3 separate regions of the Homo sapiens genome follow, and all the other regions are linked to region 1. The links are contacts of gene promoters, found by promoter capture Hi-C in blood cells and fetal thymus (Javierre and others, 2016). All regions are on one chromosome and are shown on one strand. Each heading gives the region's core, a stretch centred on a gene start or on the middle of the fragment in contact. The rest is flanking DNA. Distances are from core to core; before and after follow the strand shown. Region 1 holds the start of CEP76 (centrosomal protein 76). Region 2 overlaps SEH1L (SEH1 like nucleoporin). Region 3 overlaps PRELID3A (PRELI domain containing 3A).

Evidence for each region. Contacts are between HindIII fragments. The CHiCAGO score rates a contact against its expected background, and 5 or more counts as called.
Region 2: a contact is called between a fragment that was not itself captured here and the fragment with the promoter of CEP76 in region 1, in 10 of 17 cell types (total CD8 T cells, neutrophils, erythroblasts and 7 more). The highest score is 8.2, in total CD8 T cells.
Region 3: a fragment that was not itself captured here is called in contact with the fragment with the promoter of CEP76 in region 1 in 8 of 17 cell types (endothelial precursors, M0 macrophages, M1 macrophages and 5 more); the score reaches 7.9 in endothelial precursors.

Annotation. Positions count from the first base shown.
Region 1 is chr18:12,700,874-12,705,873 of GRCh38, reverse strand. It overlaps CEP76 (centrosomal protein 76), which reads left to right and starts at 3,151. Exons shown (of 12, transcript NM_024899.4): 1 at 3,151-3,388; 2 at 4,761-4,916. The coding sequence starts at 3,326. PSMG2 (proteasome assembly chaperone 2) reads right to left here and starts at 2,832. Exons shown (of 7, transcript NM_020232.5): 1 at 2,710-2,832. The coding sequence starts at 2,766. RefSeq lists enhancers at 3,464-3,513, 3,524-3,823, 3,109-4,006. The HindIII fragment of the contact is 2,487 bases long and covers 2,146-4,632 here.
Region 2 is chr18:12,971,994-12,976,564 of GRCh38, reverse strand. The region is part of intron 5 of SEH1L (SEH1 like nucleoporin); the gene reads right to left. Among named protein-coding and RNA genes, the nearest start is that of CEP192, 17 kb to the left of the region's middle. The HindIII fragment of the contact is 2,520 bases long and covers 1,605-4,124 here.
Region 3 is chr18:12,417,807-12,422,098 of GRCh38, reverse strand. It overlaps PRELID3A (PRELI domain containing 3A), which reads right to left. Exons shown (of 7, transcript NM_001142405.2): 2 at 1,606-1,774; 3 at 470-559. Among named protein-coding and RNA genes, the nearest start is that of PRELID3A, 12 kb to the right of the region's middle. RefSeq lists a silencer at 1,466-1,615. The HindIII fragment of the contact is 6,008 bases long and covers 1-4,292 here.

The sequences.
Region 1 (5,000 bases), core at 1,902-4,401:
GTGAGTGTGAGGATGTGTGTACATGGTTGATTGCAATTTTAAGTAGAGTGTTCGAGGAAAGACTCACCCTAGGTGACAAATGACTAGAGACCTGAAAAAGGTAAAGGAGACAGCCGTACAGAGATCTGGGAAAGAACATTCCAGGCAGTGGGAAAGCAAGTGTAAAGGCTTCGAGGTATGAACAGAAGCACTCTTGGGTCTGCTTACCATTTGCTTTATTAGTGCCTCTTTACCCATTCCGAAAGGTTGAAGTGATCTTTTCACACTAAACACACACACACACACACACACACACACTCTCTCTCTCTCTCTCTCTCTCTCTCTCTCTTTTTCCCATGACTTAAAATAATGAAGCTGCCAAATCCCTACCTACATCCCAGAACACGTAGGAGCTCCACAACCTAATGGACGTCTCCACATGGTTAGGTCACAGGAAACTCACATTCCACATGTCCAAAACTATAAACTTTTGCCCAAATTTTTCCCCATATTTTGTATTTTAGAAAAGGGCGCCGGGCATGGTGTCTCATGCCTGTAATCCCAGCACTTTGGGAGGCCGAGGCAGGTGGATCACCTGAGGTTAGGAGTTTGAGACCAGCCTGGCCTACATGGTGAAACCCTGTCTCTACCAAAAATACAAAATTAGCTGGGCGTGGTGGTGCATGCCTATAATCCCAGCTACTCGGGAGGCAGAGGCAGGAGAATCACTTGAACCCAGGAGGCAGAGGTTGCAGTGAGCCAAGATCGTGCCATTGCACTCCAGACTGGGCAAAAAAGAGCAAAACTCCATCTCAAAAAAAAAAAAAAGTTCAATATTATTCAATCTACCTAAACTTCTTCCCATTCCCTTACCAACTACATCTAATACATGCCTAATTTTTATTGAGGCTATCCCCCAAGTATCCTTTTAATGTAGCTCCTCCTTTGCATTCTTCCAACAACTCCTTTTGTTTTCTGTCCTTCGGGTGTTCCCTCAGCATGTTCTCCCACTTTTCACTGTTGTCACCTACCAATTGCCTAGTTACCTCCTGCAATTCCCTTCTCAACGATTTTGCTACTTGGGTTAAACTCTTCTGTACCATCCTTCTTTTCCTCACAATATTGTATTATTCCCATCAGCACGTAAACATGCTCTAATATCTTTCATTCTAAAAGGCTCTCCCTTGACCCCACATAGCCCTCTAACTGCAACCTCATTTCTTGTTTCTCTATGTAGCAAAAATTCTCCAAGTCGTCCACGAAAACATAAGCAGAAACTTTATCTCTTATTAAAAAAAAGTTTTTTGAGACAGGGTCTCACTCTGTCGCCCAGGCTGGAGTGCAGTGGCACGATTTCAGCTCACTGCAGCCTCTGCTTCCTGGGCTCAAGTGATCCTCCCACCTCAGCTTCCCGAGTAGCTGAGATACAGGTGCAGGAAACCACACCTGGCTAATTTTTATTTATTTTTTTGTAGAGATGAGGTATCACTATGTCGCCCAGGCTGGTCTTGAACTCCTGAGCTCAAGCGATCCTCCTGTACTCGGCCTTCTAAAGTGCTGGGATTACAGGCATGAGCCATCATGCCTGTCTCTGAATTAATGACTGAATATATATTATACAACCCAAATCTTTAACTTGTTTTCTATCATTCATTCAACCCACTCCAATATGGCTTTCCTCTTCACCACTTCACTGGTAACTGTTTGTCCAGGTGACCATCATTAACATGTCGCTAAATCCAAACATACACTTTCTTCACCTTACACATCTCTGGGCTACTTTTGACATGGCCACTCCCTCCTTTTTGAAACACTCTTCTCTGGGGCTGTGTGTTTTATATGTAATGAATAAGGATGACACTTCCAGCTCTCTCCAGCCTTATACCACTCCAAACAGTGCATTTTCCAATGGTGCCTTCTGGGTTCACAGGGCCTACAGCCTATTCTCTCTCAATGTGTCATTCCAAATTCTTGGCAGTCTTCAAGTCCCCCTGCTTACTGACTCTGTTTTAGACATCCATCTTTCTGAAACGCCTACTTTCCCCTACTCCCAGCCCACGGGCCCTCCATCTTTTGCATACTACTTTCTCTATAAAGCCTTTCTTAACAAGCCATCTGTCCCTCCCCTCCCAATTATCTCAGGACCTTTCTATACCCTTTCAAGCTTCTAGCCTAGCATTTATTGCTCTTAGATTACATGTTTCCAACTACAGTGTAAATTCTTTGAGGGCACGCACCTAGTCTTATTCTAATACTCGCACATAACAGACTTTATTAAAACAATGAATGAATATAAAGAGCGATAAAACTGCGCTAACTACCGGCAAGAGTTAATGTTTATTGCCCTATCAGTAGTTCTCCGGTTAACAACGATAATATGCTAGCTTAAGACTAATTCTAAAACTAGTCGTAGAAAGACTTTCTAGGATAAAACTGAAGGATGCCCTGCAAAACATAAGTACAGTGTATCTAGAACGTACGAACACATCACGTTTTACAGGAAACAGAGACTACAAATTGTAGACTTGACTACGTTTGGTTTTACAGCCGACAAAGGTTCTGTTTGGACGGCTGCCTCCGGCTACAACCTCCCTGTTTTTTCCGGCCGAAAACATGAAATAGAAACTAGTGCCCTATTTCTCCCAAGGCACCGCCAAACACCCCGCGTCGGGGTGGCGACACCGCAGGGGCCTCGGGAGGCGGCAGCCCCGAGCGCAAATGGAGACTCACCATTAGGAGGGTGAAGCCGGCAAGGTCGGGGGCCGACTCCCCGCAGGGAACGAACATGGTCGCAGTGGGGTGGCCAGCAGGGACTAACCGCGGCCCTGGCAAGAACGAGGGCAGCAAGAAGGCGGAAGCCCGAGACCCCGGAGCCTCGCGGGGCGCGGGAGGGTCCTTTGAGTCCCTGGGCGCCGGGCCCTTGAGGCCCGTCCAGCTAACTGCCGGTTCAGAGGGCGGAAAGAGGCCGCCGGGTGGCCGCGAAGAGGGGCCAGCAGCGCTTTCGGAGACCCTGGCAAGCAAGGCGATGGGGTGCGCTGAGGTCTCGGGGTGCGGGGCCCGCGGGGAGGTGGAGCGGCGGGCGGAAACGATCAGGCAGCGTGCGGGCCAGCCCCAAGCCCTGTTTGTCCGCCACTGTTTGAAAACAGTTGGCGCCGCCGCCGCCGGGGCCTCATTTCCAGGTCAGCCCCCGGCCTGACGCGGCGTTGCGTCCCCCGGGAGCTGCGCTAGGCGAACGGCTGCGGCGCTTTGTGCTCCAGTCGCTCCTAACGCTCCCTGGCCCGGCCGGGGCCGCGCAGTTAGGGCATCTGAGGCGGGGAGAAGCGGCGGGGAGACGCCGGCTGCCAGCATGTCGCTGCCTCCGGAGAAAGCCTCCGAGCTGAAGCAGCTCATCCACCAGCAGCTGAGCAAGGTGAGAGTCGCGGGTGCTGGGAGAGACCGCCGGGCCGACCCATAACCTTTCCCTCCTGCCCGGCGGCCCCGGGCCGACAGCGGCATCTGCTTGCCGGGACTGTAGCGAGGATTGTGGGGTGCGCAACGCAGAGTAGGCAGAGCTTTGAGTTTGAGGCAGGAGAGCGTCCTCGTCTCCGAGAAAGAAAACGAGCCGAGCAGGTGCTAGCAAGAGTCTGGGGCGATAGAACGAGCGGTCTTGGCGTTTTAGGACGGCCGTGAGAATGAAGCGCTTAGCGAGCGACTTCTGGAAGTCGGATCGAGTGTAAGTTGTATTTGGAGGTTTATATTCTGCTGTAAGATATCAGGTTTTTTTTCTTTCTTGAGACGGAGTCTCTCTGTTGCCCAGGCTGGAGTGCAGTGGCACGATCTCGGCTCACTGCAACCTCCGCCTCCCAGGTTTAAGCGATTCTCCGCCTCAGCCTCCCGAGTAGCTGGGATTACAGGCGCGCGCCACCACGCTCGGCTAATTTTTGTATTTTTAGTAGAGACGGTTTCACCATGTTGGTGTGGCTGGTCCCGAACTCCTGACTTCGTGATCCGGCCGCCTCGGCCTCCTAAAGTGCTGGGATTACAGGCGTGAGCCTCCGCGCCCGGCAGATATCAGGGTTTCTTTACCGCTGAAACATGTGGGTATCAGCGAAGTTGAACCAGGAGCTTCAATCAGCAATTCTCAAATAAGTCATGGAAGAGAAGTTACTAAAGGGTTTGTAATGACGGAATTTGTTAATATTTCGGAGCTCCAGAAGAACCTCCAGTTTCTGCAGCGCTCGCTCGACTGAGTGCAAGATGCTGAAGTGATAAAAGCGACCATTTATGGTGCCCTTGTGTGCCAGGCTTTGTGCTGTCTAGTATCTTTAATCCTCACAACACTATCGTGAGAGGGCACTACACTAGGTTTTTCCATTCTTATCGGTGACGAAACAGATTTATAAAGGGTAAATAAGTTGGCTTGAGGTTACACATCTACTAAGTTGAAAGCTGGTAAGATTCCCTTATCATTAGGCAGATCAAAGTATGAAAGTAATAAGATCATACTTTGATCTGCCTACTCCCAGTCCGTGTTCTTCTGATTATACTATACTCCCTCTCAGAAGATTCCTTTTGGTTGAGTGTTGTTTGTGGAGAAATGGTAACAAAGGTGCCAGATAACCAGTGGAGACTATTTCTAGAATTTGTACTCAAAAGATTCATTCTTTAAAAGCTTACCTTTGTTCCCATTCAATTGTGGTAACAATTGTGCATTTACTGTTAGCTGGAGAACCTTAAAACTTCAGAAGCAGTATTTGACTGCTTTGTGATGTTATAAATTGTAATATGAGTTTTCTACATAGATGGATGTCCATGGTAGAATAAGAGAAATCCTTGCTGAGACTATACGGGAAGAATTGGCACCTGATCAACAGCATTTATCAACAGAAGATTTGATCAAAGCCCTTAGACGTCGAGGAATCATTGACGATGTGATGAAAGAACTTAATTTTGTTACTGTGAGTAATCTTTTAGGGAAATAAATGAGAGTATATATGTATATACTAATGCGTAACACTACTTATAAGGTTCCGATGTGGGGC
Region 2 (4,571 bases), core at 1,615-4,114, 270 kb before region 1:
AGGTGGAGCTAAGAGCACACATGCTGCAGCCAGAACGTGTTTGAATCCAGGCTGTAACGACCTTCAGCAAGTTCTCCGTAAAGTGGGAGGAACACCCGTACTGTGGCAGAGAGATTCTAAGTGCCCCCATGACCCGCACCTCCTGGTGGTCCCGCCCTTGTGGAGGCTCCTCCCCATGAGTGTGAGTGGGGCCCGTGGCTTGTTTTCTACCCAGGGGACGGAACATGGCAAGGTGGTGGGACAACACCCGTGTGACTACAACACACAAGCCTGTGACGCCTGCCTCATGAGAAGACTCTCCTGCTTTCAGGCCTTGCAGAAGCAGCTGCCATGCTGTGAGGACACAAGGGAGGGTCTCGTGGCAGGAACACGAGTGCTGCCAACAACCAGGTGAGCTCCGAAGTGGAGTCTTTCCCAGTCTGGCCTGACTCTTGACCCACAGACATTGAAATACCGAATCTGTACTGTTTCAGCCACTGAGTGATAATGCTGTCATGCAGCAATAGACAACTAATCTCAGCTATTCTATCCATCTGCCTTTACACATCCCCACCTGGATGTTCCAAACGCACCTCAAACATATGTCTGAAATAAATTGTGCTTACCACATTCACTCCTCTTTGCTCAGTCCCCATCTCAACAAGTGGCACTACCATCAGCTAGGTCAGAAACCAAGACTCACGTGACCTACAGCTGGTGCCTCCTAGACAAGTCTCCCCGGTCCCTCTTCATCCCACGCCACAGTGCATGTCCTCATTCCACATCATAGTGGGCTACTGCATTCATCCCTGAGTTCCTGCTCCCAGTCCACACAGCTGCCAAAGTCATCTCCCTAAAAGGTAAATACAACCTTGTGACTCTACTGGACCCTGCAAAAGTCCAAATGCTGCCAGGATAGAGATCAGACTTGGCAAGCACCACTCTCCAAAATCTGCCTGGCCTGTTGGCCTGCCCCTCCCCTGTCTCTCTCCTGCATTAGCCTCCCCACCCACCGCCTCGACCCCACGCCCTTGTCTTTGCTCCTGCCTCCTCTCTGCTTGCAGAACACCCTCTGTCTTTCAAGATTCATGCTCAAACATCATCAGCTGAAACTTCTCACCCTACCAGGCAGGTATGTGCTGCCATCTCTAGCAGGTGACCATCCTCATCCATATCCTAGGCGCTGTAAGCTCCTTCAGCTCTTAGTACAGTCCATGCTGCTTATGAAATGTTGAAAAAGTGAGATTTTTTTTTTCTTACCTGAGGCAAGCTATATATTGTAATTAATTAAGGTGGCTGGGCACGGTGGCTCACGCCTGTAATCCCAACACTTTGGGAGGCCGAAGCAGGCAGATCACCTGAGGTCGACAGTTCGAGACCAGCCTGACCAACATGGAGAAACCCCATCTCTACTAAAACTACAAAATTAGCTGGGTGTGGTGGCACATGCCTGTGATCCCAGCTACTTGGGAGGCTGAGGCAGGAGAACTTCTTGAACCCAGGGGGCGGAGGTTACGGTGAGCCGAGATCACACCATTGCACTCCAACCTGGGCAACAAGAGTGAAACTTCATCTCAAAAAAAAAAATAAAATAAAAATAAAAATAATTAAGGTTATCTAAAGCTTCTCCTATCAGAAGGAGCCAAATAAGATCCTCAATGAGAGTGTAAATAAAGAGAATGAACAAAAAAGACTTTGTTTCTGGTCCTGACTCTGGACCTTAGACTAGTCATTCACTCTGTTGGTCTCAGTTTTCTCATTTGTAAAACAGTGTTAATAAAAGCTGTCTCCTCTACTTACAAGGTGGTTGGTAGGATTCAAACTTCATAACACACATAAAAATGCCCGGTAACCTATATAAACACATGGCACTTCTATTATCACTATCAATCCTAGATCTGTTTTAGTATTTTCACTCACAAATAAAAACAAATATATCCAACACTGGTTAATTTGGCAAATGTCTCCTGTCTACTAAATGGTGATACTACTTAGAAAAAGATAAACAGGCCGGGCGTGGTGGCTCACACCTGTAATCCCAGCACTTTGGAAGGCTGAGGTGGGCGGATCACAAGATCAAGAGATGGAGACCATCCTGGCCAAAATGGTGAAACCCCATCTCTACTAAAAATACAAAAGTTAGCTGGGCATGGTGGCGGGTGCCTGTAGTCCCAGCTACCGGGGAGGCTGAGGCAGGAGAATCGCTTGAACCCGGGAGGCAAAGGTTGAAGCGAGCCAAGGTTGCGCCACTGCACTCTAGCCTGGAAACAGAGTGAGACTCCATCTCAAAGAAAAAAAAAGAGAGAAAAAGATAAACAGGTATTAATAACGATACTACATAGTCCACTATCACATCTCCTCCACGTTCAATCTAAATAAGAACCTTCAAACAATGCTTACCTCAAAGAACCAGCAACAGAACTCCAAAAAGTGCTGAACTTAATAGGTTTGATTACTTCCCAAGTCAATAGCACACACCCCCACCTGCAGACACTCTTTCCCCAACACCACTTCCCCTCGTTTTTGATGCTGAAAATGCCAGACACTTGCTGTCTCACTCTCTTGCAGCTAAGGCATGGCTGGATGACCAAACTCCAGCCGCCAGCACCTGATAAGAAGCCTGCTAAGATACTTCTAGGAAAGGTGTTTTTTTCTAGAATACCCTTCTTTGTATTAGCATGTAAAACCTGACATTGTGCAGCTCTTTTGTGATCATAAGAGGGAGCTATCACCAGTGTACTAAGCATGACAGCAAGAAAAAAGTGGAAAATATTTAGGTAGGTCCTTGATGTCATCATTGAGCAACTGAGTCACTACCTAACCCCAGAACTGCTCCACCCTCAGGCTCCTTGTCACATGACATAATACAGGGAATCCCCCAGTCTAGATTTATTCTGTTAGCTAAGAGACTAGACTCAAATGCAATCTCAGATTATTTTTAACATTGGATTATTTAGGTAATTTAGAAATACTTAGGTAATTTCTAGGCCGGCCGTGGTGGCTCACACCTGTAATCCCAGCACTTTGGGAGGCCGAGGTGGGTGGATCACCTGAGGTCAGGAGTTCAAGACAAGCCTGGCCAACATGGTGAAACCCCGTCTCTACTAAAAATACAAAAATTAGCCAGGCGTGGTGGCACGCACTTGTAATCCCAGCTATTCAGGAGGCTAAGGCAGGAGAATCACTTGAACTCGGGAGGTAGAGGTTGCAGTGAGCTGAGATTGCATCACTGCACTCCAGCTTGGGTGACAGAGTGAGACTCTCAAAAAAAAAAAAAATAGGTAATTTCTATTTGCCTGTATTTTCTTTCAGAACTAACTGCAAGTTATTTATCTTTTTACTCAAATCTTACTTATGAAATATTTTCTTTTCCTATGTTTTAGAAAAAAATCTTTTTTTGACACTGCTGGAGTGAAGTGGTGCAATTTTGATTTACCGCAGCCTCGACCTCCCAGGCTCAGGTGATCATCCCACCTCAGTCTCCCAAGTAGCTGGAACTACAGGCATGCGCCATCATCCCCACAGCTAATTTTTGTACTTTTTGTAGCGAAAGGGTTTCACCATGTTGTCCAGGCTGGTCTTGAATTCCTAGACTCAAGTGATCCACCCACCTCAGCCTCCCAAAGTGCTGAGATGGCAGGCATAAGTCACCTCGCGTGGCCAATGATACACCTTTTACGTTTTTGGGCTTATGTCTACATATTCATTCTGCTCAGCTCAGGTTGAAATTTACTTTAACAAGCCCAACACTTCATGAAGCCTCTATAAAATGTGCTATTAATAGGGCTCATAGTTTTTACAGCTTAAAACTCCATGAAAATCTCTAAGACCATTTCCCATCACTGCAGCACATTCTACTGGACAGCACTGTTGAAGACTGAGCCTCTCTGCAGACACCAACAATCTAGGAAGGTAGAAGGTGTAAGATCCCCTTGGTAACCCAGATGGTAACATTTGGAATTGCAGAGCCCACGGGAGTAACACTAGTTCCTTCTCTACTGCTGGCCCTGCCTAAGATCTGACTATTAGACTCAAGAATTTTGTCTAGTACCTGCGAAGCCCATCTGATCACCTGACAAGTGCTCTCTTCTCCTGTAAGACTGAGTAGTGTGCCTCTGAGACACTGCTTTTGGCTCTCAGAAGCTTTGCAGACACTTGTATCTCGGCATGACCAAAATTAACTTACCTTCACATGCTGCCACACTCTACCCAAATCTGCCTTGTTCCCAGAGTTCCTTATCTCAAGAAATTACACACATTGAAATTACACACTGAACTCTTAAGCCAGAACCTTGGAAATCATCTTAACACCTTCCCCCTTCTTCCTCAGTTCAGTTCTCAAATCCAATCAATCACCAGATCCTATTGATACCACTTCTCAATTATTCTCAAGTTGTCCACTTATCTCCATGCCACTGCTACTACTATCCCAAAGCCACGTACTCTCCCACCTGGACTGTCTTCATAGCATCCTAGCCGTGAATCCACCATGTTTCCCTCCAAAACACTTGTCACACCTATAGAAGATCCATCTGATCCCATTATTCCCTATTCACATCACCTGTAAGATAAAACTGAAACAATGGACATTA
Region 3 (4,292 bases), core at 289-2,788, 280 kb after region 1:
GGATGGTGGCACGTGCCTGTGGTCCCAGCTATTTGGGAAGCTGAGGCAGGAGGATCACTTGAGCCCAGGAGTGCGAGGCTGCACTGAGCTATGACCACACCACTGCACTCCAGCCCGGGTGACAGGGCAAGACCCCATCTTTAAAAAAACAAAAACGTCTGCTGGTTGTCAGGACAGTGGTTATCCTGTGGGGGGTGCCCAAGGGGTCTCAGGGGCTGGTCAAATTCTGTTGCTTGAACTGCCTGCTAGTTAAGAGGTGCGTTCTTTGTGACAATTCATCATTATGTGCATTTTTCTATATACTTATTATACTTGAATAAAAAGATAAACTGCTAAATGAATTCAGCCTTTCTGTTAAAAATAAGCAACACCTAGACCAAAGGTGGGCTGGAAATAGAATTAAACGAAGGCCTTACGCACCACCACCCAGACACACTGAGCCCGTTTCTCATCTGAGGCCATTGCTTACATTGGTAGAACAAAGTTCCATTTTCTTTTCCACTGGATCCACCACAGAATGTTCTCGGATGTATGTCAATGTCCTACTGGTTCCCAAAATCTAGAAAACAAAGCAAAACTAGCATAGTGGAACGTTAAAAATTCTACTTCATATCACCACCGAATACCATTGCATTTACTAATTAGTTCACTATTCAAGAAATGATATCATGGGATGCAGCAAGGGACAGAGACAAAACCCCTGTGTCCAGGGCGCTTCCGCTCCAGCAGGTGAGCCACTGAGCAAAGAAATGAATTCCAACAGAGTGGAGCGTGCAGCAGCACTATGCTCCCGGCAAAATAAAACAGGCTGCGGGCAGTGGAGCTAGGAGGCCCCTCTGCCGGGCGGAGTCTGGGCAGAGCCCCAAAGAGGAAGGTACCACCATAGTGCTGGGGTGGGGGTGTCAGGCTGGGGGCAGCAGGTGCAGGCCCCTGCAGCAGGAGCTGGGCTGACTGAGAGGCCTGCGCCAGGCCAGGGTGTGGACTGCAGGTGGAGGCGAGATCCAGGGGCCGGGTTGGGGTGAGCCGTGCTCAGATTTGCATTTCCAGCGACCTCCCTGGCTCTGAGGAAGAGGCCACGGGGGGCTGAACCATGGTGAAGCCTAATCCCGGTGCCCTAGGATGCGGCTGGCTGCGGACGCTGGGCTTTAGAGGCGGTTAAACCAGGAGGAGGGGCGCCTGGCAGTGCTAATCCAGCAGGCCCGGGCCCTTTGGGAGGACAGATGGGGATGCCAGACGCCACGCGCCAGGCAGAGCCTCCCGCGACCCCCGATCTCGAGGAAGACCCCCCCACCGTCCCCCCACCCCGTGACCCCCGATCTCGAGGAAGATCCCCCCCCACCGACCCCCCACCCCACGCCCCCCGATCTCGAGGAAAACCCTCCCACCAGCCCCCCAGCCCGTGCCCCCTGATCTCGGGGAAGTTCCCCCCACCGCCACCCCCACCCCGCGCCCCCTGATCTCAGGAAAGGCCCCCCGCCGCCCTCCCACCCCGATGGCAGCCAAAGCAGCAGAGGCACTGATGAGGGGAGGAGGGACGCGGGAGAGGGCGGGGGCGGGAGTGGGGGAGTCGGGCGCGTTCGGAGCCGCAGCCCCCGCCCCGCTCACCGCTCTCACGAGGCTGGGCAGCCCCCACTCGGTGCTGAGCAGGCGCAAGCTGTGCAGGCGGCCGCGGCCGTCCACGCGGCGCTGTAGCACATCCACGCCCAGCACGCTCGGGTTCATCGGGTTCGGGTACTTGCGCATGGCCGCCTGGATGACCGTGTCCCACGGGTGGCTGCGGGGAGAGCATAGGCGGCGGTGAGCAAGCGCCGGGGCCGGGGCCGCAAGGGTGAAGGGGAGGAAAAGCCGCCGCCAGGCCTGGGCAACGCGCTAGTCTCTTCACTTTAATGAAAGGCTGGTCCGACAAATCTGAGGAGTCCCGCGAGCCCTCCCCGGCCGCCGGCTCAGCACCTGCACGCCTCGGCACCTGGCAGCCCCTTGGTTTTTGTTTGTCTGAGACAGGGTCTCACTCTGTCGCCCAGCAGGCAGGAATGCAGTGGTGCCATCAGGGTCACTGCAGACTCAAACCTCCCAGGCTCAAGTGAACATCCTGCCTCAGCCTCCTCTTGCCCCACCTCCAGTAGCTGGGACTACAGGCGTGTGCCACCAAACCTGAATGACTTTTTTGTTTGAGACGGAGTCTTGCTCTGTCACCCAGGCCGGAGTGCAGTGGCGCGATCTCAGCTCACTGCAAGCTCCGCCTCCCGGGTTCCCGCCATTCTCCTGCCCCAGCCTCCGGAGCAGCTGGGGCTACAGGCGCCCCCCACCATGCCTGGCTAATTGTTTTCTATTTTTTAGTAGAGAGGGGGTTTCACCGTGCTCTCGATCTCCTGACCTCGTGATCTGCCCGCCTCGGCCTCCCAAAGTGCTGAGATTACAGGCGTGAGCCACCACGCCCGGCCTAACTTTTTAAATTAATTAATTTTTTTTTGAGATGGGGTCTCACTCTATCACCCAGGCTGGAGTGCCGTGGCACGATCTCAGCTCACTGCAACCTCCGCCTCCCGGGTTCAAGTGATTCTTCTGCCTCAGCCTCTCTAGTAGCTGGGATTACAGGCACCCACCACCACACCTGGCTAATTTTTGTATTTTTAGTAGAGATGGGATTTCCCCATGTTGGCCAGGCTGGTCTGGAACTCCTGACCTCAAGTGATCCGCCTGCCTCAGCCTCCCAAAGTGCTGGGATTACAGGCATAAGCCACCACGCCTGGCCAACTTTTTTTTTTTTTTTTTTGATATGGAGTCTCGCTCTGTCACCCAGGCTGGAGTGCAATGGCTCTGTCTCGGCTCACTGCAACCTCCACCACCCGGGTACAAGCGATTTTCCTGCCTCAGCCTCCCTAGTAGCTGGGACTACAGGTGCCCGCCACCACACCCAGCTAATTTTTTTTTGTATCTTTAGTAGAGACGGGATTTCACCATGTTGGCCAGGCTTGTCTCAAACTGCTGACCTCGTGATCCGCCTGCCTCAGCGTCCCAAAGTGCTAGGATTACAGGCGTGAGCCACCGTGCCCAGCCCAACTTTTTATTTTAACAATTTTTTTAGGTCTCATTATGTTGCCAGGTTGATGTCGAACTCATGGCCTCAAGCAATCCTCCTGCCTTGGCCTCCCAAAGTGCTGGAATTATGGGCATGAGCCACCGCACTCAGCCTCCCCTTGTTTTATTTCCTGCCATCAGAGTGGTTGCAAGTCACCCATTGCTTTCCAGAGCTCTGCACTTGTTTAGGCCTGAAACCTGCAGGGTCAGACACACGTCTGAAGGGAGCCAAGTGAGGGGCCACCACACCTGTCCAGCATGGACCTTCCCCCGGACTGCTAAGGGGTTGCTAGCAAGTCACTTTATTGCCCTAATTGTCCTAATCCACCCTTCCTTCAAGGTGTGCTCTCTCCCAGGAAGCCTCTGAGCCTCCTGCAAGGACAAACATTCTCTGACAAGATCATCATTTCTTCAGAAGTGCCCAGAGAGGTTTGTCCAGCATATGTATAGACACAGCCCAGAGGCAAGCCCAGATGTGTGCACACACCTATGCACCATCACATTCACATGTGTGCACATATGCATGCAGACACACATACATGCACATGCACACACATCTTGAAAAATTAAACTGGGATTACACTCAATATATGGGTTTACCATCCATTTTTTATAACTGCTGATAAACATTTTCCTATATCATGAAGCCATTTTCAGGAATATGATTATAAACAGCTGTACACTAGGTCATCTTGTGGCTGTGTATATTTCACCAGTCCTCTATGGTGGGTTATGTTATGTAGATTGCTTTCACTTTTACACGATAAATTATAACAGTAGTGAACATTTGTGTACATTAGTCTTTCAACATATCTAATTCTTCCTTAGGATAAAGTTGTAGAAATGAAATTTCCAAATAAAATATGAAAGATTATGAGGATACTGAAGTTTTTTCTTCCATATTTGAGGTCAATTTTCAATATAACAGAGTGATCAGTAATTTACTTTACCCTCATCAAACACTCTTGTCCTAGGTGAAAGTTAGCAGCAGGGCCCAGATGAGAACCAGGTCTCGCAGCTCCCTAACCTGTTCTATTACATTCGGTGGCCTCTAAATTGTCAGGGCCTGGCCTGGAATCCTCTCTTAACAATAGAACACTTATGTTCAGTTTTTTGAACCATGCAATTGTGTCACTAAGCTGACGCATTCCACTGGCTAACATAAAGAGAAGAGAGGGATGAAGAAGCCAAGACTGGGTGGTCCTGATCACTCT